4 separate regions of the Homo sapiens genome follow, and all the other regions are linked to region 1. Evidence: promoter capture Hi-C in human tissues and cell types (Jung and others, 2019). All regions are on one chromosome and are shown on one strand. Each heading gives the region's core, a stretch centred on a gene start or on the middle of the fragment in contact. The rest is flanking DNA. Distances are from core to core; before and after follow the strand shown. Region 1 holds the start of TMEM184B (transmembrane protein 184B). Region 2 overlaps POLR2F-AS1 (POLR2F antisense RNA 1). Region 3 overlaps DDX17 (DEAD-box helicase 17). Region 4 holds the start of KCNJ4 (potassium inwardly rectifying channel subfamily J member 4).

The links. Contacts are between HindIII fragments. The study calls those that stand out against the background at their distance.
Region 2: a fragment that was not itself captured here is called in contact with the fragment with the promoter of TMEM184B in region 1 in 1 of the 25 tissues and cell types used here (pancreas).
Region 3: a fragment that was not itself captured here is called in contact with the fragment with the promoter of TMEM184B in region 1 in 1 of the 25 tissues and cell types used here (dorsolateral prefrontal cortex).
Region 4: a contact is called between the fragment with the promoter of KCNJ4 here and the fragment with the promoter of TMEM184B in region 1, in 2 of the 25 tissues and cell types used here (dorsolateral prefrontal cortex and neural progenitor cells).

The regions. Positions count from the first base shown.
Region 1 is chr22:38,269,981-38,275,731 of GRCh38, reverse strand. TMEM184B (transmembrane protein 184B) reads left to right here and starts at 2,722. Exons shown (of 9, transcript NM_012264.5): 1 at 2,722-2,848. RefSeq lists a silencer at 2,570-3,199 and an enhancer at 3,262-3,971. The HindIII fragment of the contact is 18,337 bases long and covers 1-5,751 here.
Region 2 is chr22:38,028,381-38,034,131 of GRCh38, reverse strand. It overlaps POLR2F-AS1 (POLR2F antisense RNA 1), which reads left to right. Exons shown (of 2, transcript NR_199596.1): 2 at 977-1,960. It also overlaps a transcript of POLR2F not described here. Among named protein-coding and RNA genes, the nearest start is that of POLR2F-AS1, 3.0 kb to the left of the region's middle. RefSeq lists enhancers at 1-899, 1,911-3,110, 5,205-5,705. The HindIII fragment of the contact is 4,209 bases long and covers 38-4,246 here.
Region 3 is chr22:38,490,728-38,496,478 of GRCh38, reverse strand. DDX17 (DEAD-box helicase 17) reads left to right here. Exons shown (of 13, transcript NM_006386.5): 6 at 542-683; 7 at 1,433-1,593; 8 at 1,677-1,849; 9 at 2,348-2,458; 10 at 2,708-2,769; 11 at 4,364-4,423. Among named protein-coding and RNA genes, the nearest start is that of DDX17, 13 kb to the left of the region's middle. The HindIII fragment of the contact is 4,436 bases long and covers 1,316-5,751 here.
Region 4 is chr22:38,451,880-38,457,630 of GRCh38, reverse strand. KCNJ4 (potassium inwardly rectifying channel subfamily J member 4) reads left to right here and starts at 2,432. Exons shown (of 2, transcript NM_152868.3): 1 at 2,432-2,651. It overlaps LOC124905116 (a long non-coding RNA gene), which reads left to right. Exons shown (of 2, transcript XR_007068096.1): 2 at 1-309. RefSeq lists enhancers at 4,536-5,154, 5,155-5,751. The HindIII fragment of the contact is 19,664 bases long and covers 1-5,751 here.

The DNA.
Region 1 (5,751 bases), core at 1,473-3,972:
AGACGGGCAATTGCTTTGAGCCCAGGAGTTTGAGGCCAGCCCTGGCAACATAGCGAAACCCCATCTCTACAAAAAAAAAAAAAAAAAAAAAAAAATACAAAAATTAGCCTGGTATGGTGGCACATGCCTATAATCCCAGCTAACCAGGAGGCTGAGGTGGGAGGATCACTTGAGCCTGAGTGGCGGATGTTGCAGTGACCTGAGATTGTGCCACTGCACTCCAGCCTGGGTGACAGAGACTGTCTCAAAAACAAAAAAACAAAACCGAAAAATTTTGTGTTCTACTAGAAGAAGACACACAGGGAAACAGGCAAACTATATAATATGATAGAAATGAAGTGACAGGGTGGCTCACGCCTGTAATCCCAGCACTTTGGGAGGCTGAGGCAGGCGGATCACGAAGTCAGGAGATCGAGACCATCCTGGCTAACGCGGTGAAACCCCGTCTCTACTAAAAATACAAAAAATTAGCCAGGCATGGTGGTGGGCGCCTGTAGTCCCAGCTACTCTGAGGCTGAGGCAGGAGAATGGCATGAACCCGGGAGGCGGAGCTTGCAGTGAGCCGAGATAGCACCATTGCACTCCAGCCTGGGTGACAGAGCGAGACTCCGCTTCAAAAAAAAAAAGAAAGAAAGAAAGAAATGAAGTGACAGGGAAAGTAGGGCACGGTAAAGGGAAATACAGAGTGCATGTGAGGGGTCTGGTAGTTTTACTAGGGGTGCTCACAGCAGGCCTCACTAAGTGGAGGACATTCGAGCAAACCCTTGAAGAAGGTGATGGAGGAGCCATTCAGGTATCTGGGGAAACAGCGATCGCAGCAGAGGGAACAGCTAGTGCAGGGGGCTCGGGGCTGAGTGTGCTCAGCTTGTTCTAGGAACAGCAAGGGATCAGTGTGGAGGGAAAGGGTAAGAGATGAATGAGATCAGGAATCCCCAGGAGAGTAGAATGTCAGATCAAGTGTTTGTAAGGACTTGTAAGGCTTTTACTTAGAGCGAAACAGTGAGCCAATGGAGGGTTTTGAGCAAAAAAGTACCATGTTTTGACTTCGATTTTATTTTATTTTTTGAGACAGATTCTCATTTTGTCACCCAGGTTGGTGTGCATTGGCACGATCTTGGCTCACCACAACCCAACCTCCGCCTCCCGGGTTCAAGCAATTCTCATGCCTCCAGAGTAGCTGGGACTACAGGCATGTACCACCACACCCAGCTAATTTTTGTATTTTTAGCAGAGACAAGGTTTCACCATATTGGCCAGGCTGGTCTGTAACTCCTGGCCTTAAATGAGCCACCCGACCTCACAAAGTGCTGGGATTACAGGCGTGAGCCACCGTGCCCGGCAGATTTTAAAAGAATCTTGGCTGGGCGTGGTGGCTCACGCCTGTAATCCCAGCACTTTGGGAGGCCGAGGCAGGCGGATCACAAGGTCAGGAGATCAAGACCATCCTGGCTAACGCGGTGAAACCCCGTCTCTACTAAAAATACAAAAAATTAGCTGGGCATGGTGGCGGGCGCCTGTAGTCCCAGCTACTCGGGAGGCTGAGGCAGGAGAATGGCGTGAACCCGGGAGGCGGAGCTTGCAGTGAGCCGAGATCGCGCCACTGCACTCCAGCCTGGGCAACTTTGAGACAAAGAGCGAGACTTTGTCTCAAAAAGAAAAAAGAGAAAAAAAAAAAAGGATCTCCCTCACCCCTGAATTGATAGAATGGATCAGAGGGCAAGGCTGGAACAAGGGAGAGGGGTTAGCAGAACTCTGCAATAATCCTGTGCAAATACTGGACCAGGGTGGTAGCACTGGAGGAGGAGTGGCAGACATCTGAGTCTAGATCTATTTTGCAGGTAGAGCCAACAGGATCTCCTGCCTGCCTTATTGGGTAGCGGGCAGAAGGGGGGCATTCATTCACAGCTGACTCCGAGTTCTGGCCTGGGGACTGGAAGGATGGAATTGTCAACAGCTGATGGAGGCAAAGCTGAGAGGGAGCAGGTTTTTGTGTGTGGAAGTGGGGTTGGCTCAGCTCAGACACGCTGACTTTGAGATGCCTGCTGGAGCTCCAAGGAAGAGGTGTTGGGTAGACAGTTCAGGCGAGGAGTCTGGAGACATAAATACATTTGGGGATCTTGAGCACATCAATGCCAGAACTTAATTGCATTTTATCTTGTTCAGTTAACCTAGGTGATGTCTGGACCGGCAAACAGAAATGGACTAGGCGGCTTGAACCCTATCTGAAGACTTTTGCTAGTTCGGCAGCCTAGAGCCAGACGGGGCAAGAAAGAATCGCTGCTAAGCGGAGTGGGAAAAAAAGGCCTCTTTCAGTGCTTTGCCATTTCATCTGGCCTAATTGCACACAACACTCGGTCCACGTTCATTCCACAATTCCACACGCATCCTTCACTCAACAAATAGCCATTGTATTTCGTTTCATCTTCAAAACAGGCTCAAATGGAGGAAATTAGGGTTAAAAGAAGTGAAGCACCAGCGAGGGTCAGGGGCAGAGATCGCAGCCCAGAAAGCTCTCGCGGTTGGGGGCCGGTCGTAGCTGGTTTTGTGAGTGGCAAGAGAACCCGGGTCGCGCCCCAACCCGCGGGGCGGCGGGCTGGGGTTCGGGGCGGCGGGCTGGGGTTCGGGGCGCGGCCCCTTTAAGGCCCAGGCAGTGATCTCAGCCGCGTCCGCCGCCCCGCCCTCCCCGGCGGCGAGCCCAGAGCGCATGCGCGCCGCGGCTGCACTCCACTGGGCCCGGGACGCGCCGGCGGCGGCGGAGACTCCGGGGCTGCGGCGCCGCCCGCCCCGCCCGCAGAGTCCGGCTGCCGCGCATCGTCCGCAGACGCCGCCACCGCCATGGGCTCCTGAGGTATCCCGCCTGGCCGGCCTCGCCCGGGAGCCCCAAGGGGGAGCTGCGACTCCCGAGCGCGGGGGGCTGCTTGTTTCGGAGAGGCCCGCGCGAGGGACGCCCGGCTTCGGCCGCCGGCTCCCGGGCGGGGAGGGCACTACGGAGGCCGGTGCGGCCGCGGAGGGAGGGGGCATCCGTCTCCCCACCCGTGCCTCCTCTCCGCCCCGCGAGGTCGCCCGTGGGTGTGCCCGCTCCCTTTCCACGCCAACGTGGCGGGGGCAGCTCCTGGAGTGTAATCGGACCTGTCCGGGGGGCGGCCCCGGGAGAGGGAGGCGGATGGACCAAGGCGCTTTGCAAGAGGGATTGTGTGCTCCCGGGTGGGTGTGCTGGCGACTGGCACGGCCGAGTGAGTGGGGGAGGCGTCCGTGCCCTGTGCGGGTGGCAGTGACCTGGGAGGGTGGTCGGCGGGGGGCTTTCGGGGCTGCGTCGTGAGTGGAGGGTGTACACGCCCGCCACACAGGTCCGCAGGTTTGGAAGGGGATCGACTGGGACCTGGGGCTCGAAAGATGTTTGCCCCCAAAGGGACCGTGGAGACTGGTTTTGGGTGTCTGTATCCTTCCCGTGAATTGTACATTTCCTCCTGGGCACACCCTTGGTACCTCGCTTGGATCCACTTACCTCCAGTGCTGGGTGGCTCCAGGCCAAGGCAAGGCAGTTATGCTGGGGGTTGGGCATGGATTCCCAATACATATCCCCTCTGGAGGTGTTGTATAAGGCCAGACGTTTTACTCCTCCCTCCTTTCCAGGGCATTTTGGGGCAAAGCAGGTATTTGCATGCCTGATACCTGTGGTGAGGTGAAGGCCATGTATTATTTATCTGACTGCTGGTGCTTTTGTAAGGAAAGAAGCAGCAATCTGTGCCCTGGAGGCCCTGCGCTGCAGAGTCAGCCAGGCAAACAAGCTCACCTGCACCTGCAGAGGCAGCGCAGGTCTCAGAGGTGTGACTTCGTTGACAGGTTATGCCTACAGTGTCCCTTTCCATCTACCTATTTAGCTTCCTTGGTAGAACCCCTAGGCTCTGCACCTCTGAACCTTGCCTAGGGTGCTGTGCGTATCAGAGTTGGGACCTGGGACGCTGGGGTGGGAGAGCCCCAGCAGCCAGGTATGTGTGCCCACCTGGACAGAAACATTTGATGCCCAAGCCATCAAGGAGCTCTCAAGCATGGGGGAATCAGATTTGGAAACAGGTGATCACGATGATGTGAAAAATACCAAACAAAGGAGTAGAAGGAGTACAGAGGCAGGTTCAGTTCCCGGGGAGGGGGATCGTGGCCGCAGGAAAGACTCCCTCATAAGGAGACGGTTGAGCTGAAGCCTGAAGGATGACTGACGTTCATCTGAGGCTTTTCTGCTTTCCACATATATTTTCCTGTGTAATTTGCACAGCAGCTGTGTGAGTAAGGAACAGTTGTCCCTATTTGCAGATGCGGTAAACTGAGGCCCAGAGGGAATTCATGACGTTCTTCTCCACGATACGTGGCAAGCCTGGATGGAATCATCCTTTAACCAGGACCTCTCTCTTGCTGCCAGATCTTGTCTTGCAACTTACTGAGCATCTACTATGTGCCAGGCACTATGCTGGGGCATAGCGGTCTGATGATCAATGGGACCTGGTGCCTGCCTTCTAGGGGCTCCCAGTGCTGGGAAGATGGACACTGATTTAGTGACCCCAATCTGGATACGAGGCTCCAATAGCTAATGTGGGTGGAGAAGGCGCTGTGAATTCCCCCAAAGCATTTGTGCAGTCGTTGGGATTCTGGATGTCTTATTTGTTGCACCCACGGTGGTGGTGGGTTATTCAAAGAGCCCCTTCTGAATTTCTCCAACCAAGTAGAAAGAAGAGCTTCGAGGCAGAAGGGTGAATGAGCCACTTGTCCTAGTTCTTTCCTATTGGCCGAGTTCTGTGAGCAGGGGCTTCTGTCCGGAGGCTGTTTGCTCCCTCTCTGTCTTAGAGGTTTTGCTCCTGGTCTCTGGCTGGCCTGCCCAGTCCCTCACCCTGAGAAGGGCTCAGAGCTATTTCCAGTCCCTGCTGTGCTCATTTTCTCTCTGTAAATTCCCTGGAGTGGAAACAGCCCCGGCAAGGCAGGGTACAGCTTTTTATTGTTTTGAAAACGAGTCACAGCTCTGGGCCTTTAGACTGGGGATCTGGTGTGGGAGTTCTGGAAGGCCAATAGCTGGGCCCCTGGGAGAGCTCTGTGTGGGGTCTGCACCAGGCCCTGCAGCCCCGGGTAGTAAGCACTCACCGAAGACCATGCTGCCCTGCACTGTGCTGGGGCAGCCCTCTAAAAGGTGGTTGGCAGAGGGAGCCCAATGTGTAACAAATATGTGCAAGACAGTGCCCTACTTGTGGTGGAAACAGAGGGCCCTAAAGGGGCCCAGAGGACAATAGGAACAACAGTCCGTTTATTGAGCACTTACTGTGTGCCAGGCACAGTTCAAAGCGCTTTCATGAATTACTGTATTTAATTTTCCTACCACCCAGTGTGGTGGGGGCTGTCACTGTCTGCATTTTGTAGGGGAGGCAGCAGAGAGTGGAACAGCTGAGTTTTGAACCAGTAGGTCTGACCTCAGAGCCCATGCTCCTCCCCCATAACCCTGGGGTGCTGGAAGTCGTCTTGGCCCTGAAGGACGAGGGGTGCTCCACCTATGAAGGAGAAGGAGGGCGTTCCAGGTAGAGGGAACTCCGGGCAGATGTGGAGGTCTGAGCTGCCTCACCTCTCAGACGCAGAGGCTTGAACTGCCTGTGACTGTGTTGGGTCTGTGTCCTGAAGACCTTTGGAGGCCCCGCCAAGGAGTTTGAACTTGATCCTGATGTCAACAGGGAGGCCTTGAAAGTTTCTGGAAGGATGTGACATGCTCAGCCA
Region 2 (5,751 bases), core at 893-3,392, 240 kb after region 1:
GGAAGCAGAAGGGGAGGCGGAAGGAGCTGACAAGGGGAGTCGGGAGGACACCAAGGGGCCATGCCAAGCCCTAGGTTTTGGGGCACTCCTGCCCTGTCCGGGTTCGGCCCCAGCCACTTGACCCCTGGGATGGTGCAGGGAATAGGGGTCAGCGGCGGTCACAACCTCTCTTGACTCCCAGAATCAAAGGGGTTGGGGCCCCAAGTGAGCAGCAAACTTAGAGTCAGCATGGGTCATGAGGAGTCGCCCAGTGCCCTCGTCCACGTCACACCCTCTCCCAGCGAGCACAGGACAGAAGCCTCGAGGCCCTTCCACGGGCACTGTCGTCAGTCAGTGGAGTCACATGGGGGGCAGGCAGCGGGGCCGTGGCGCCTTCCGGTGGCTTCCCCACATCCACCCCTCCCCTCAGGATCCTGCCACCGCTCTTGGAAAACAACTGAGGAAATCAAGTGGAAACACAAATCCGCCACCCAGTCCCTCCCGCTCCGCCGGGGCCAGATCCCATCCCCCAACCCCCACTGCACTGGGGGAGCAGGCTTGGCCTCAGAGGCTGTGCCAGCCCAGCAGGGCTTGCCTTGGCGAGGCTCTGTGGGCACTGGTGATTGGTCCTGGAGTTCCCAGCAGCTGGGCCTGTCTGTCGCCCCATCTGGTCCTACAGAACCAGCCCTACCCCAGAGGGACTGGGTAACCAGGCTTGAACCCCGCTGCAACCTCTAGACTCTGGGATCTGGGGCCAGGGAAATTCCAGCCCTGGCTCTACCAGAGCCTAGCAGGCCGCCCTGGACAAGCGCTTTCTCTCTGTAGGTCTCAAGAGTCCTCATCTGTAAAATGGGAGAGATAAGCCATGCCCCGTCCACCTGAAAAGGCTGGCGAAGAAAGACAGGGCAACTAGGGAGGACAGCTCTGTGCAAAATCTCAAGATTTTGTCCACTTCCTTTTTTTTTTAATTTTCTTTTTTCTTTCTTTTTTTTTTAAGACAGGGTCTCACTCTGGGGCCCAGGCTGGAGTGCGGTATCATGATCACAACTCACTGCAGCCTCAACCTCCTGGGCTCAAAGATGGCTCACAGATGGCTGCTTTGATGTTTACAAGGAGGTGTTGCGTCACAGGTTGGGAGGTCATGAATTATGTCATGCTCCATGTGGGGGACATGAATTATGTCATGCTCCGTGTGGGGGACATGAATTATGGACGGCAGTAAGGGATTCCAGAGGCAGCTCACCAGTGGCCCACGGAGCCCTTCTCAGCTTGGCCTCCCCACCTCCCACCGTGGCCACCCCTCCTGCCCCTGCAGGCCTTCATAACTGCGCATCCAGGCAGCTTCCTTGCTGAAGCACCCTCTCCGCAGAACTCCTGCTCATTCCTCAAGACCCAGCTCGACTGTCTGTCCTCTGTGACACGTCCTGATTCCAGGCAGCATGAGGGGCGTCCGCCACCCCACGTTGGTTCCTACAGCACACTGTGTCAGTGTGGCATCATCCATCCATGTCCCCAATCAGGGTGTGGACAGGGCCTATGCCTCAAGCATCCTGGTTTCCCTGCCCCATGCCCAGTGTTGGGCCTAAGGAATAGCAGAGCTCAGTGGACTATGTGCCTGACTGTGGGCAGAGACCCCGGTCTCTCCTGGGCACACTCAGCCTCGAGGCAGCAGCTCGGCTCCTGACTGATGGATTCAGGGGCAGGTGATGGGTGTGAAGCAGTTTCCCCTGTCAGATACCCGCTGTGCATTTTTGGGAGGACCGTAACAGTGGAACTCCAGAGCTCTCCTGGGAAGATGGCTGTGGTGGAAGGTGAGAGGACACTGGCCAGTTAGAAAATGGATAAAAGCAGGCCAGGTGTGGTGCAGTGGTTCACATCTGTAACCCTGGCACTTTGGGAGGCCAAGGTGAGAGAATTGCTTGAGATCAGGAGTTCAAGACCAGCCTGGGCAACAGAGTGAGACCCTGTCTCTACAAAAAAATTAAAAATTAGCTGGGTGTGGTGGCTTGTGCCTAGGCTTCCAGCTATTTGGAAGGCTGAAGTGGGAGGATCACTTAAGCCCAGGAGGTTGAGGCTGCAGTGAGCCAAGATCGCGCCATTGTACTCCAACCTGGGCCACGGAGCAAGACCCTGTCTCAAAAAAAAAGTAAAAGAAAAAAAAGAAACTGGACAAAATCTCCAGACTTCAGACCAAAACAGAGGCCAAGACAGAGGGGACTAGAATGCTGGGGAGGGGACTACGGATGTGTTTGGAAGGAAAAATTGTCATGGCCGATGACTAGCCATAGGGGATGAAGGGGATGGATGAGTCAAAAATGACTCCGAAGCTTCATGCCTGGGTCACTGGAGAACAGTGGGGCCGTTGATGGGGCAGGGAAGCGGGGAGGGGTTGGTCTGGGGGCAGCATGGTGACGCGGGTTTGAGACATGGACTCACAGCACTTTCAGGCTGGAAGCAACCTTCGGAGGTCACCAGGGTCACACGTGAGGAAGTGGAAGCTGAGTGAGGAGCTGCCACTCAGCCGGGACACCTGTGACATCAGGCGCCTGGGACAGGGTGTTGGTGCTGGTGGGGACCTGGACAGCGGCACAGGGTGTGAAGTCCGTGCCTGCCCAGGTCCTGCACTGGGCTCTGGGGACCTGGTGGTGAATCAGACCCAGTCCCCACACTTAGGGGCTCACTGTTCCATGGAGGAGACAGACATGACTGTAATTACTACCTGGGCTAAGAGGGTGGTGTGGTGAGGACTCAGAGGGCCAAGTCTACCTTGTGGGGGGACGTGGGTAGGAGAAGTAGCCAAGGAACGAGGGCATCCTTGTTGTCAGAAGTAGGCTCCTCCGTGCCAAGAACATCTCATTTAATCCTTGCAACCATCCTGCAGGCTCTGTGGTATTACTGTCCGCATTTTACAGATGAGTTTGAAAAAGATGAAGCAGATTGTCCAGGGCCCTGCAGATGGAATGACACCCAAACTCTCGCTCTTAACCCCTGCGTCTTGGAAGAGGTGTGCTGGAGCTGAGGCCTGACAGAGTAGTAGGAGTTTCCCAAGGGACAAGGAGGGAGGGGGCGACACCGACACTTGCCAAGACCCGTCTTTCCATTGGCAGGGTCTGAAGTGCTGGTGGTCTGTAGCCTGCTTCCTTACCTCTTGCCCAGGGCCTCTCACAGCTCTTCCAGCCCTCGTCCTGTCCCAGGGCCCCTCATTTCACAGACCCTGCCTTTCCCACCCCCTACTGGTGACAGCCGACTGATCTGATGGATTTGTCCAGCAACTGAGCTGGGGGTGGGGTGGGAGAGGGCCTGTTCCTGATCCCCGGGGAACCACTGACCACGCTCCCCAGGCCTTCCCAGCACAACCCTGCCCCCACCCACACCTCCCCACTGCATGACCTCTTCTTATCCCGGGAGTGACCCTGCAAAGCAAGTCATCCCAGAGAAGTGAGGATGTGCCTGAATCACCCAGTGCATAAGCAGCTGAGCTAAGTCTCAGACCCACAGGCCTGGGGTCTCAGACCATGGCGGTCCCCTGGGCTTGGACAAACCACAGAGTACTTTTCTATCCTCGGGCTCCGGTTTGCAGGGCACCATGGGAATGATCGGGGAGAAGGAGGGTTGAGCACTAGCAGTCTTGGGCAAATACAGTTTATAACCCAGGGTGTGGCAGTGCGCTGGAGTCAGCGCACACTGGCTCCCGAGAGCCAACTGTGAAAGTCTCTGGAATCGAAGCCAGTTGATATTACCTTGGAAGCTTTGAGCCTGCCCTGATGGGACTTTTTCCACTATGAAAATTGGCAGTCTACCTCTGTGTCTCCCACCTCCACAAACAGAGCTGGTTGTGAAGCATATTTACCAGCACATGACTGTCCAGAGGGCCCGACTCCTGGCTCCCCAGGGGGCTTGTGGGTTCTCTCAAGCTCCCAGCCCTATCTGGGGATCTTCGGGGAGTCGTTCTTGCTCAAAATCCATTGATATCTCCCACTTGCCACCAATAAAAGTCCAGACTCCTCCCCTGGGTTTTCCATCCCCAGCTTCAGGCCCAGGCAATCTTCCCAGCTGCATCTTAACTGTTCCCTTGCTGCCCCCACGCTTGAGCCAAACAAGAACAGATGATGCTTGTGGAAAAGGCCCTTGCTTCCTTAGTTTCCTGCTGCTGCAACAGCCTCACCTTGGCTCACGCTATTCCCTTTTCCCAAAATGCCTTTCCCCTAACTCTGCCTCTTGAAATCATCTCCAGCCTGCAAGGCTCATTCACAATTGGTGTTCAATCAATGTTTCTTGGCTGAATGGGAGGGAGCGTGGACGAAGGCTCCACAACCAGGACTGACCTGATGGTGCCTTGGTGAAGGCTAAGACCCTGGGAAACCCTGCATCCAATCCTCTGCCTCAGGACAGAGACACCCCAAAATCCCCTGCCTTCCCTAGCTTGCTTGCAGTCTCCCAGATGATGGGGTGTTAATGGAGGACAGACTGGTCACTGCTTCACAGGTAGCAAAAACAGAAACCAACTTGAACCATCCAGGTTACCTGGAAACCAATCCCTTCATTCTGTGGTCAGTCTCAAACTCCTCTGCATCCTTCAAAACCCATCCCAGGTGCTGCCTCCATTGAGAGGTCTTGCCAGTTAGAAGTCCTCCATTACCCCCTTGCCCCTGTGCCCTGCACACACTGATCATTGCACTCATGGCACAGGGTAGTGCTTATCTGTCTGTCCATCACCCCACTAGACCATAGCCAGAGGAGACAGAGCCTTATTTAAGGCTTTATCCTCAGGCTGGTGCCCAACAAGCTTAGGAGGTGCTTGTTGAACTAACTTGAAATGACTCCATCACTGTCAGCCAAGTCATCCTCCACTATCCTTGGGCCTCAGTTTTCCCCTCTGGATAAGCCAGACTTAGACGGGGTCATTTCCAAAGACATTCTGCATCTCCTATTCTGGGATTCTGTGATATGCCCCACTCCTTATCCATCTCTAATCTTCAAGTCTCCTTCCCTAAGCTGCAAGCCTTCCAGTGGGTGACGCCCCTTCCTCGGCTGCCTTCACCAGCACCACCTCACCCTGCAGACCACAGCAGTCTCTCCTCAGACCCCTGAACTCCCTTTTTCAGGGTGTTCTCTTCTCTCAGACTGTGGACTCCTCTGAAACCCTTTCAGAAGCCTCTCCTGCCCACTCCAGGCCTGGCTCACCAGCCAAGTGCACAGTCAGCACCCATAAGTGCCCATCAATGAGCTGTGATGGAGTGGCCGGGGCTTGCAGGGCCTTTGGAGAGCTGGCAGAGTTCCTGTTCAGACAGGCCTGGGAGCTGCCTGCCTATCACAGTGCGGGTGGAGGGTCCCCTAAAGCCCCCAGGACAAACAGCCACATCCCATTCTCTGCCTATTTCACTCAGACCTTCAGAGGGTGTGTGTGCAGGAGCGGGACAGGCTGTTGCTGCTGCCCCTTCCTCCCCATCCCACAGAGGGACACAGTGGCTATGTGGCCGCTGTCCTCTCCCCAATTTCTGCTTTCTTCTCTATCTCCCAAGCACACCCAGAGACATGCACGTGCATACACATAGGCACACACATACACACATTCATGCACACACGTATGCACACACATACATGCACACACGTATGCGCACACACACATGCACACACACGTACGCACACGCACACACACACACGCACACACAGATGCATGCGCAGGCACAGAGGGTCATGAGCCCCCGTATCAGTCACCCTGCACTGACATTTGGAGCACAGGGAGTTGTCCATGTGCCATCCAGGTGTGTT
Region 3 (5,751 bases), core at 2,284-4,783, 220 kb before region 1:
ACTCAGGAGGCTGAGGCGCAGGAGAATCATTTGAACCCAGGAAGCAGAGGTTACAGTGAGCCTTCATTGCACCACTGCACTCCAGCCTGGGCGATAGAGTGAGACTTTGTCTCAGAAAACAAAACAAATCCAAATTTTGAGGACCAATATGATCCTCAAAGTAAATGCTTGCTGGAGCATTTTGGTTTTGGGGGTTTAGGATGCTCAACCTGTAAATGAGAGTTGTATACTTAAAACCAGGTAATACAATCTATATCTCCACTTAAACAGTATATATAAACTATAATGATTGATAATGTGTCATAGTAAAAGTGACGAGGATACCAGTATCATTCCAAATGCTAAACATGAAGTTCTAATAATTTTTTTCTATATTCCATTGTGCTAATATTCCCCACTTCTGATCTTCACCCCATCACTTTTAATGTGCTAGATTAGACAGCAAAGAATTAAATTAGCTTTTTGTATTTTGTTTCTTCTTTTTTTTTTTTTTTTTTTTAAACCTTGGATGAGGTCTCAAGTGTCTTTTTGTTGGTTTCAGTGTCTAGTTCTGGCTCCTACCAGAGAGCTTGCCCAGCAAGTACAGCAGGTGGCCGATGACTATGGCAAATGTTCTAGATTGAAGAGTACTTGTATTTATGGAGGTGCTCCTAAAGGTCCCCAGATTCGAGACTTGGAAAGAGGTAATAATATATAGTGTAAAAGAATTGTTAGTTTATCTTACTTTACCAATTCCTGTGGAGGAAATTGGAGAAAAAAAGTGGGTTCTTGTGATAAACTCAGAATTTCAGCAGCTTAGAAATTCTCAGATGTGACTAAAACAGCTATTTTGAGAGAGAAGGTTCAGCATGGCTGGAAACTTTGTGAGGATTTGGTGATTGTACATAAGTCCTGACATGGTTTTGCGGTTACTTTGTTAAAATTTAGCTTCTCTGGGCCAGTGCGGTGGCTCATGCCTGTAATCCCAGCACTTTGGGAGGCCGAGGTGGGCGGATCACGAGGTCCAGAGATTGGGACCATCCTGGCTAACATGGTGAAACCCCGTCTCTACTAAAAATACGAAAAATTAGCCAGGCGTGGTGGCAGGTGCCTGCAGTCCCAGCTACTGGGGAGGCTGAGGCAGGAGAATGGCGTGAACCTGGGAGTCGGAGCTTGCAGTGAGCCGAGATCGTGCCACTGCATTCCAGTCTGGGTGACAGAGCAAGACTCCATCTCAAAAAAAAAAAAAAAAATAGCTTCTCTGCAGCATTGAGTACAGCCACCAGGGCTGCTGCTGCTGCATTTTTGTAGAGTCGGGGTCTTGCTATGTTGACCAGGCTGGTTGTGAACTGGCCTCAAGCGATCTTCCCGCCTCCTCTTCCCAAAGTGCTAGAACACAGCTGTGAGCCACTGCACCTAGTCGATTGGCTCGATCATTGGTTTTGTTTTACAGGTGTTGAGATCTGCATAGCCACTCCTGGACGTCTGATAGATTTCCTGGAGTCAGGAAAGACAAATCTTCGCCGATGTACTTACCTTGTATTGGACGAAGCTGACAGAATGCTTGATATGGGGTTTGAACCCCAGATCCGTAAAATTGTTGACCAAATCAGGGTGTGTAAAGCTAATAATAAGCAGTCTTTATGCCATTTGTCCAAGTTCCTTAGCCTGAAAGAAAGCCTTTCCTTTTTTGATAGCCTGATAGGCAGACACTGATGTGGAGTGCAACCTGGCCAAAAGAAGTAAGACAGCTTGCAGAGGATTTCCTTCGTGATTACACCCAGATCAACGTAGGCAATCTGGAGTTGAGTGCCAACCACAACATCCTCCAGATAGTGGATGTCTGCATGGAAAGTGAAAAAGACCACAAGTATGAAAGATATTTTACTCTGATTTGATAATGCTGATAAACCTTTTCTAATAACCCTCCAAAATTAGTACTGTAGAAACCAGTATATTTTGAGGCCTGAGAACATTAAAAGCATTGCTAGGTTTCTGATAATCCATCATCATATCATTTGTCAGAGCATTATGGTTAAATGCAAGGATTCTGAATTCTTGAGTTTGAAATTTAGCTCTGCTGATTACAAGCTGTATAATTTTGCACAATTTTGTGTCTTGGTGCTGCAGTTTCTTCATCTGTGAAATGGGAGTAATACCACTTACATGAGACTTGCTGTGAGGATGGTATGAGTTAGTATTTCTTGAGCACATAGCAGAACCTGACTCAGTACTCTAATAGTTATTAAAAATTTTAAAAGCGTAATGTGCAAAGAAAGTACTGTAGCCTTGGGAGTTGATATTGCAGACATAATCGTCCACATAATAACTTTCTGTGTGATGACTGCATTGTTGGTCATGTTTTCAGGTTGATCCAACTAATGGAAGAAATAATGGCTGAAAAGGAAAACAAAACAATAATATTTGTGGAGACAAAGAGACGCTGTGATGATCTGACTCGAAGGATGCGCAGAGATGGGTGAGTATAGCACCAAGGCAATTAACCTCTGGTTTTATAGTTAACTGGAAATTTCTAAATTGGTATTCCAAATGTTGTGTAATATTTCAATAATGCCTATCCATGCAGTTTGCTCTTTTAATGAGCACAGTCATCTATTCATGAAGCCTGACAAACCTTACAAAAATTGCATGATAGCATTTGGCTTTAAAGTTCGATTTTCTCCACTTTAAAAGATTTTTAAAATATTGGTCACTTTTCTTCTGATAGTTGGCCAGCTATGTGTATCCATGGAGACAAGAGTCAACCAGAAAGAGATTGGGTACTTAATGGTAAGTTTAAAACTAAGCATTTTCTGTTGATTCCCCACCCCCTGCCCATAAGTGAATGTTCATGCTCTATTTCAGGGATAGGCAAACTTTCTGTAAAGGGCCACATAGTAAGTATGCTTGGCTTTGTAAACCAAATGGTGGTCTCTGTTATAGCCACTCAGCACTGCTGTTTTAGGACAAAAGCTGTAGGCTGTAGATAATATGTAAAGAAGTGGCCTGGACTGGGCACCGTTGGTGGCTCATGCCTATAATCCTAACACTTTGGGAGGCTGAGGCGCGTGGATCACCTAGGCCCAGGAGTTCAAGACCGGTCTGGGCAACATAGTGAAATCCTGTCTCTAAAAGAAAAACAAAACAAAACAAAACTTAGCCAAGCTTGGTGGTGCACGCCTGTAACCCCAGCGACTCCGGAGATTGAGGTGGGAGGATTGCTTGAGTCTAGGAGACAGGTTGGAGTGAGCCAAGATCGTGCCACTCCAGCCTGGGTGACAGGGTGGGACCCTGTCTCAAAGAGATAAACGTGGCTATGTTCAGACAATATTTATTTGCAAAAATAGGCGTTGTGCCAGATTTGGCCCAAAGGCCAGTTTGTCTTACCCCTGTTGTATAGTTGATTGAATTACTGAGGGTACTTTTAGCGTGTGCTCATGGTTCTTTAAGGGCCACGATGCTGGCTCTTTAAACTTTTTCACAACTTTCACCACCCTCCCTTTATTAATAAAGTCTTCAATTTTTTCCTTCTGATTATAAAAATATAACTACCGTTTGGGGAGAATTAAACTGTTACTGAAATATTTAAAGAAAAATGTTTCTTAATGAGTCATATTTTAGCATATTTCCTTTCAGTCCTTTTTTTCAGGACTACTCTTAAGGGAAGCCATTGAGAAATGGAAGAGGCCATATTTTGTTTAAGAAATAAAATGTGGCCGGACACAGTGGCTCACGCCTGTAATCCCAGCACTTTGGGAGGCTGAGGTGGGCGGATCACCTGAGGTTGGGAGTTCGAGACCAGCCTGACCAACATGGAGAAACCCCGTCTCTACTAAAAATACAAAATTAGCCGGGCATGGTGGCATATGCCTGTAATCCCAGCTATTTGGGAGACTGAGGCAGGAGAATCGCTTGAACCCGGGAGGTGGAGGTTGCGGTGAGCTGAGATTGCGCCACTGCACTCCAGCCTCGGCAATAAGAGCGAAACTCCATCTCAAAAAAAAGAAAGAAAAATAAATAATATGCATACCTTTTGGGGGGAAATTCAGTTCTTTTCATTCTACATCTTTTGAACTTGTTTCCTACTGACCCCCAACTTTTGGTTGTGTCTCATTTGGGAAATAACTTTAAGGGGAAAAAAATCTAGCTCATATTAATTATGTAACAAATTGCCACACTCTCTTAACGGTATTTCATTATTAGTAGAGGTAACTATTGTGCTGCTGAATATGAGTGTAATAAAGATTTTCAAAAGAATCACTGTCAGTCATTACAAGAGCTTGGGATTTTCTGGCACCATTATTTGAAATTTTAACATGGTTATGTAAACAGATCAGATAGCAAGGAATGCTTATTTGATGATGATTATTGTTTGTTTTTACAGAGTTCCGTTCTGGAAAGGCACCCATCCTTATTGCTACAGATGTAGCCTCCCGTGGGCTAGGTTTGTATAGATAGGTGTCTCTGTCAATGGTATATGTATCTTTTGGTTTAAAGATTCGTCATTTCAAATTCAGACTTCAAGTTTAGAAAGTTGTATATACATGTGGTTAGATAAATATTTGAAAGAAAAAAATACAAAGCGTGATTCTCCCCATTCCCTGCCCCCCCCACAATTTTTTTTAACTTTGGTTTCCCCCACCCCCCTTTTATTTTCAAAGTCTCTTCCTGCTCCTAACAAACAGGCTTTGGTCTGCAGCAAGGCCTAGGCATGACTATTCAAACAGAGGGAGAGGAGACAGACAGCTGAATGGCTCAGCTTCTCTCTGGTGGTGGTTTCTGGCTGGATAGAATAAGCCTGACGAAACCTAGCTATTGTAAGCTAGTTTCTTCAGTTATTCTTTTCCCTATCCCTGTCTAAGCTAGATATATACAGAGAGGTCCAGTTTTATGAATGCTTATTAGATGGAATTTTATAAGTCTAATGCAGTATCAGAATAGCAAATATGTGTATTGCCCAGTTTAATTTACTGAGGTCAAATTATCATGGGCACTTGGCTATCCCCTCCTACCCATGCACTTATCTGTAGGTGTGTTATCAACTGATGATTTTCTGGAGTTTTTGACCCATTACCATTTAAGATATACAGAGAATTTTATGGTAGTTTAGCCCACTATTCTGAGCTAAACAGGTCTAACTCAGAACTTCTATATTTTAAAAAAAAAGATTATTTGTATTACAAGGAAATCCTTAAATTATTGACAGGTATTTAATTTGCCCAGTAAGGTGAGAAGTACCATATTATTCCCTTATACTATATAATATAAAGAGAACAGGTATTCAAACTGGAATACAAAAGTAATGAAGCCTTTTTATGCATTGCACTCATCATTCCCTCCTTCAGAGGTGGTGACCTGCAGCCATGATGGAAAGTTCTCTCTGCCCCTCTGCCCTCTGAGGTCATGTCTGGATCTGTGCCATTAGAACTTGGGCCTGTTGGGAGAGGAGGCGGAGGCCTGAAAGCAGTTTACATAAAGCTTTCAGTAATGGTTGGTTTTTAAACAGGCTTGCTATGTGCTGGTAGCTTCTTTGTGCATCTTGCCTAGACAATTAAAAATATTTGCTCCATGTCCCCTTGCATTTCTAAACCAAATTAATTGGCTACCATTAGAATAACTTAGACTCTTCATCCCACCCCCACTCATCCAAGTGAGGGGAGAGGGAAGGTACCCGAGTCTGTTTCTTGTTACTCAACATCAGTGCTTGTTTTGGGCCCCTTTGTTTGCTGCCTTGTAAAAAATCAAAAGAGGGAGAAAACCCACCAAAATGGC
Region 4 (5,751 bases), core at 1,183-3,682, 180 kb before region 1:
GGGCACTCAGGCTGCTTGAGTCTCCCCTGCATCCACGCACTGAGCATTCATGTGATGGAACATCAGTCCTGGCTGTCTGCCTGTGAGGACACAGCAGGGTAACCAGGGAGAGGCGTGGAACAGGACGTGCGTTCTGGAGGTCTGCACAGTCGGAGAGAGCCGTGAGAAAGGATGGCCACATTTATTGAGCGCCTACCATGATCTGTGTATTTCTTGTGCATCCACCTCACTTAATCTACCCCTTGGGAATGGAGGACGTTAGGGTCCTCAATTTACAGACAGATTAAATAAAAACTTGTTCAAGGTCAAGTAGCTCCTAGGTGCTTTTGAGCCTAGGTTAGCCTGACTCCTCATCCCACTAAGCAAGAACCATACTTGTGCCCCGCCCAGGGGCTGGTATGTGGTGGGTGCCTAGTGCTGGTTGAATGAATGAGTGGGTGATAAATGACTTCTGCTGGGGTCATCAGGAGGCCTTCTCAAGGAAGTGGCACTGAGGCTGGGCTTGGGGAACAGCAGGAATTCTCTGGGCAAAAAAGGTGGAAGGATATCTTAGTGAGGAGGAACAGTGCGTGCAGGCAGAGAGGTGTGGAGGCCTGTGGCGTGTTCTGGAATCTGTGGAATCAGGGTGTACCTGTGGATTTATGGGATGTGGGATGCCGGATAAGGTGGGGCCTGACTATACCACACTGAGGAGTTGGGACTGAATCCTTTTGAGTAGGGAGAGCCCACGAGGAAGGGAAACACTTGTGGTGGTTTGTGTGTTGCTGTTCTTATGCTGACATCCTCGAGGCTCAGGAGAGCCAGAGGGGATTTCAGATTTCATCAGTTCTCCACCTGGCTTTGGGGTGCCTCGGTCTCTCCCTCTCTGTAATGGGGCTAGTCGGTGATGGCCAGACTCCCAGGGAAGTTTTGCTGGCTGTCTAACTGCAGGTGTTCTCTCGTCCTACCACCCTGGAAGGAGGAGCACTTTCCCTCCTGTCTCCTCGGAGGGCTAGAGTGACGTGGCAGGATGGTCAGGATGTAGCTGGCTAGACAGGTGCTGTGGGTGCTGGGGGTTCCCTGACACCCCAGAGTGTGGGGCCCAGGCCTGACAGCTTGGGGTAATGGAGAGCGACAGAGAATAAGAGACTAGGGTTTGGCCTGGCTTTGTCATCTCTGGGTGACCTTGGCCGAGTTTCTGACCCTCTCTGGTACCCAGTCTCGCCATCTGTAAAATGGGGCAGTGGTGACTGAGTGATCGCGAGGGTCCCTCCAATAGGGCCCCCTCAGACTCCCAGAGTGAGGTGCTTCGGGTCCTTGACCGGCGGTACTTTGGGAGAGTACGAGGACCGCTAAGGAGAGGGGCGGACTCCGTGGGACCCCAGAGGGACCAGCTCCCACCCACCCCCCTTCCCGGCTCGGAGGAACCCTCTCCACCTGCCCCCTTTTGGGGGGGGGGCACAAAACCCGGGAGCGGATCCAGGAACGGGTTCTGGGAGGAGCGCTCCTGGGGCGAGGAGGAAAACCCGGGCAGGATCCAGGGCAGGAGCGGGGCCAGCAGCCCCCCGCCCCAGCCCCTGCTCCGCGCCGCGGGCCCCGCGGGAGGGGGCTTGAGGCCGGGTTAGGCCGAGGGGCGGGCAGGGCGGGGTCCCGCGGGCAGCCGGGGCTCCCGGGCTGGGGGGCGCGCGGCCTCCGCAGTGGGGCGCGGGTCACGTGTGAGGAGGGGCGAAAGTCTCGCAAAGCGGGGCGGCGTGCCGCGAGTTGGGAGTTCTCGGCGCGCCGCGGGCGGCGGGAGCTCGGGCTCCCGGGCGAGCCGGGGACGCGGCCAAGGCGGGGGCCGGGGTCCGAGACAGAGGGGGCCGCACGGAGAGTGGGAGGGGGAGAGACAGAGAAGGACAGGGGCCGCGAGGGAGACGGACAGAGACGCGCAGGGGAGAGAGGCAGCGCGGGCAGAGGGAGGCGGGGGGAGGCCGGCGGGCGACCGCGACGGAGACGGAGACCCCGCGGGCAGAGGGCGAGCGGGGCCGCAGGAGGCAGGGAGGCCGGGAGAGGGACCGGGACGCGAGCGCGGCGGAGACCCCGGCGGCAGGAGAGAGACGCGAGAGCGGTCGGGGAGGTGGCGACAGAGCCCGGCCGGCGGGGGCGGGGAGGGCGACCCCAGGCCGGGAGGCCGAGGGGTCGCGGGGCCGGGGCCGAGCGCAGCGGGGCCGGGAGTGGAGCGCAGGGCCGGGGGCAGAGCGCGCGAGCAGGAGCGGGTGACAGCGAGGGAGCTGGGCGCAGCGGGGGACGGCGGCGGGGAGGGCGCCTGCAGCGGGGGTGGGGGGCGCGGGCGGCGGGGCGCCCCGGGCCCCCGGACCCCCGCGCTGTGAGCCCGGCCGGGCCCGACGATGCTGACGCCGAGGCGGCGCCGAGGGCGCGGCGCGGGGCAGCGCTGAAAGTTGGGCGGCCCGCGGGGAGCGGCGCGGGACGGCCGGGACGCGCGGAGACCCCAAGACCCACGCGCAGACCGAGCGGCAGCCGGGGAGGGGAGCGCGGGCCGGCCGGCCGAGTTCGCGGGCAGGGGGCGCCGGGACTCCCCTTTCCGCGCCCGGGACGCCGCCCGCCGGATCGCGCCTTGGGATGTAGCGCCCGCTCGCCGCCTCCCGGACTCTCGTCGGACCCTCCGCCCAGCGGTAAGCCGCGCTCGCCCACCCCGGGCGCTGTCCGTCAGTTTGTCCCGCCGCGTGCGTGTCTGTGTGTCCCGGGCCCGCCGCTCCGGCCCCGCCCGCTCCGCACCTGATCCGGAGCCGGGTCCCGGCTGCCCGGCGCCGCGCGCGCGGTCCCGTGACTCCCCGGGAGCGGGCGGGCTCCACGGGCGGGCTCTGTCCGTCTGTCCGTCTGGGAGCGTCGCGGTCTGGGTTGTGGCCTGGAAAGGGGGAGAGAGGTGGGTGGAAGGGGTCTTGACCTCCTGCCCCAGCCATGACCTTTCCCTGCCTCCACCCACCCCAGTTGTCATGCCGGGGAGCTTCAAGGCAGGTGACTTGTGGCAAGGTGGGGGATGCCGCCTTTCCGCCTCCCCAGCTGCATCCTCGTTGCAAATGGCCCTGTGATCTGAAGAACGAAATCTCACTTCTCATGTTTTGAGCACCTACTTGGCGCCACACGACCCCAGGGCGCAGGGGCAGGGATTGGTAGAGGAGGCACTGCACGTTCACAGTGATAGACACAGGCTGGGGAGGGAGGCAGAGGCTGCTTTTTCCTCCGTGTGTAGGGAGCACCCCAAGGCAAGAGAGGTCTCAATGAGCCTCCCGCAGGGAGAACTTCCCCTGCAACCTGCCAAATGTCCCCCCACCAGTGTCAGCCTCCCTGCCCCCTACCCACATTTCTGCCCCCAGTGTCCCTGCTTCAGGATGGACAGGATGCAGGGAGTTGGGAGGTGGCAAGCTGGGTGGGGTGGAGCGGCGGGCTAGAGGCAGGGCAGCCTGGCCAGCTGACAGAGCAGGGCCTCAAGAGCAGTAGAATGTTCAGCAGCAGGTTTGGGGGAAGTGGGGAACTCAGGGAGGGAGGCCCAGAGAAGGGTTGGAGCCGTGTGTGTGTGTGTTCTCCCCCACATCCAGTCCCATGACCTCCATGGCTTCAGGCCTTTTGGGGGCAGTTAGCAGGACTTTAGGGGCCCAAGAGCCTCACTGTGGCCCTGGCTTGGCCTGTGCTGAGGGGAGCAAAAGGTGGACCAGGGCAGCTGGGGTAAGAGATGGGTGCAGCATGGTGGGAACAGAGACTGTTGGCCACTGAACTGACCCATATCCCAACTGGAGTTGGAAGGGCTGAGCCTAGAACATTCCACTCCATTCTCACTGGGAGGAGGGACTCTTTCTGGGGTGTTCCACACTGGGCAGTGGGTCTCATATGTCCTCCATTCAGCCTCCCAGAAATTAGCTCAGGTGGCTGGGAGAGCAGCCCCCTGGGCTGGTCACTCTCCTCCCAACCGTCATCTTCCACATCTGTGGCATGGGGACGTCACTCCCTGCCCCAGTGACCTCCAAGGCGGGCCCTGGGCTCAATGAGCAGTGGGCTGTTCACAGGCTGGGGAAAGCACTGGGGAGATGGGAGTAAAGACTCACTTTACCTTAAGAGAGATGAACAGCTAGTGGGTGGAGGTGGGCGTGGGGCAGTGGGAATATGGCGGAAATAGCTGACGAAGGAGGAGTGTCCAGGATTAGAGGGGGAATCTGGGGTACAATTCCTCATGGCCCTTTGGGTTATCCTTGAAAAGAAAGCTCTTCTCTCAGAAAATCCTCTGGAGTGGCTGTGACCAGGCAGAGCTGGTTGAGTTTCTGCTGGGTGACCTTGGGTGGGTGGCTTGACCTCTCTGAACCTCAGTTTCTTCAACTGGAGAATAGGTATGATGATACTGACTTCATCAGGGTGTTGAGCAGTTTCCAGACTGTGTCAGGTCTGTGAAAGCCGCGTGCGCCAGCCTGGAGCATAGTAGGTTCGTAGACATTTGCGAAAGAGAGAATGAAGTAGCTCTGGGAGATGCTGTGAGAAGATGTCTTAGCTTAGGATAAGAAGGAAGGGGAGGAGGAACAGTGTAGGCTTACAGGGCGGGCTGGTTCTTAATGTGGATCTGGGGGAGGCGGGGGCGAGTGCTAAGGGGGGTGTGAGGAGGAGGGGGCCCCTCTGCGGGGACCACTGAGTCACGAGGACATGTAAGCGACATGACAACCGGCAACATGGTAACCAGGAAACTAGCGGCGGTGGGAAACAGAGCTGGAGCAGTGTGGGGTGGGGGTGGCGGGTAGGCCTGGCAGTGCCGGGCTCAAGGGGTCCGGGGAGAAGCCAGGCTGGCCCCTCAGAGTGAGGAGGGGAGGCCCCAGGGCCAGGCTAGCTGGGGAAGAGATGGGGGCCCTGAGGGGAGGGAGGGGAGGCACCTCGGGGCTGTAGGGCAGGGGGCTCCTCCTGCACCACCCCAGGCTCCTCTCTGCTCCTCCACATCTCCACTTTTCATGCCTCTCCCCCTAGGATGCCAAATTTGGCTCACGCAATCTGTCGTCTCTCTTCTGAGATTGGCACCGGGACGAAAGCCGAGTGCATTACATCACCACCGCCGCCGCTCCCCCTGCACGAGGAGAGCAGTAGGGGAGGGCCAGAGGGCCGGGGGCAAGTGGCCAGCCCTCAACTTTCTTTCCTGTCTTCCTGCTCACTCTTCCCATCTCAGCCCTAGATGCTCGGGGGCTTCTGGGGGCAGCGGCTAGAGGCAGGACGTGGGCTCCAGTCTTGGGGAGATCCCAGGACCAGGGCAGAAAGTCAGGTCATGTTGCCAGCCCCCTGTCTGGGTGGAGCCTGGGGGCAGGGAGGCTTGGTTCAGGACCCTGGTCTGTCAGTGCCTTGCTCTGTGACCTTGGGCAGCCCCTTGCCTCATGTGGAGTCCACATCTGTATAGAGAACGGCTGGCCACTTAAGATCTTGGCGATTCTCCTGAAAGAAGGTGCCCTTAAGTTCTGCGGCTCTCCTGGGCCCAGAGGAGGGAGCCCTGGATTTCAAATCACCCTCTGTGACCTTGAGCAATTGGCTTCAATGCCTCATGCCTCCATCTCCCCACCTGTAAAATGGGGATGACAGAATCCTCAAAGGCAACAGCTATGAAAGCAGGAGACAGGAGTAGAGATAAGGCCTCTGACTCTGAAACCATAGACACTCAGGGGCCCGTGGATCCAGCATGCTGGGCAGGGGTTGGACAGGGTAGAGTGGGAGGGTGCCTGGATTCAGACAGAAGGTTTGGAGCTTAAATCA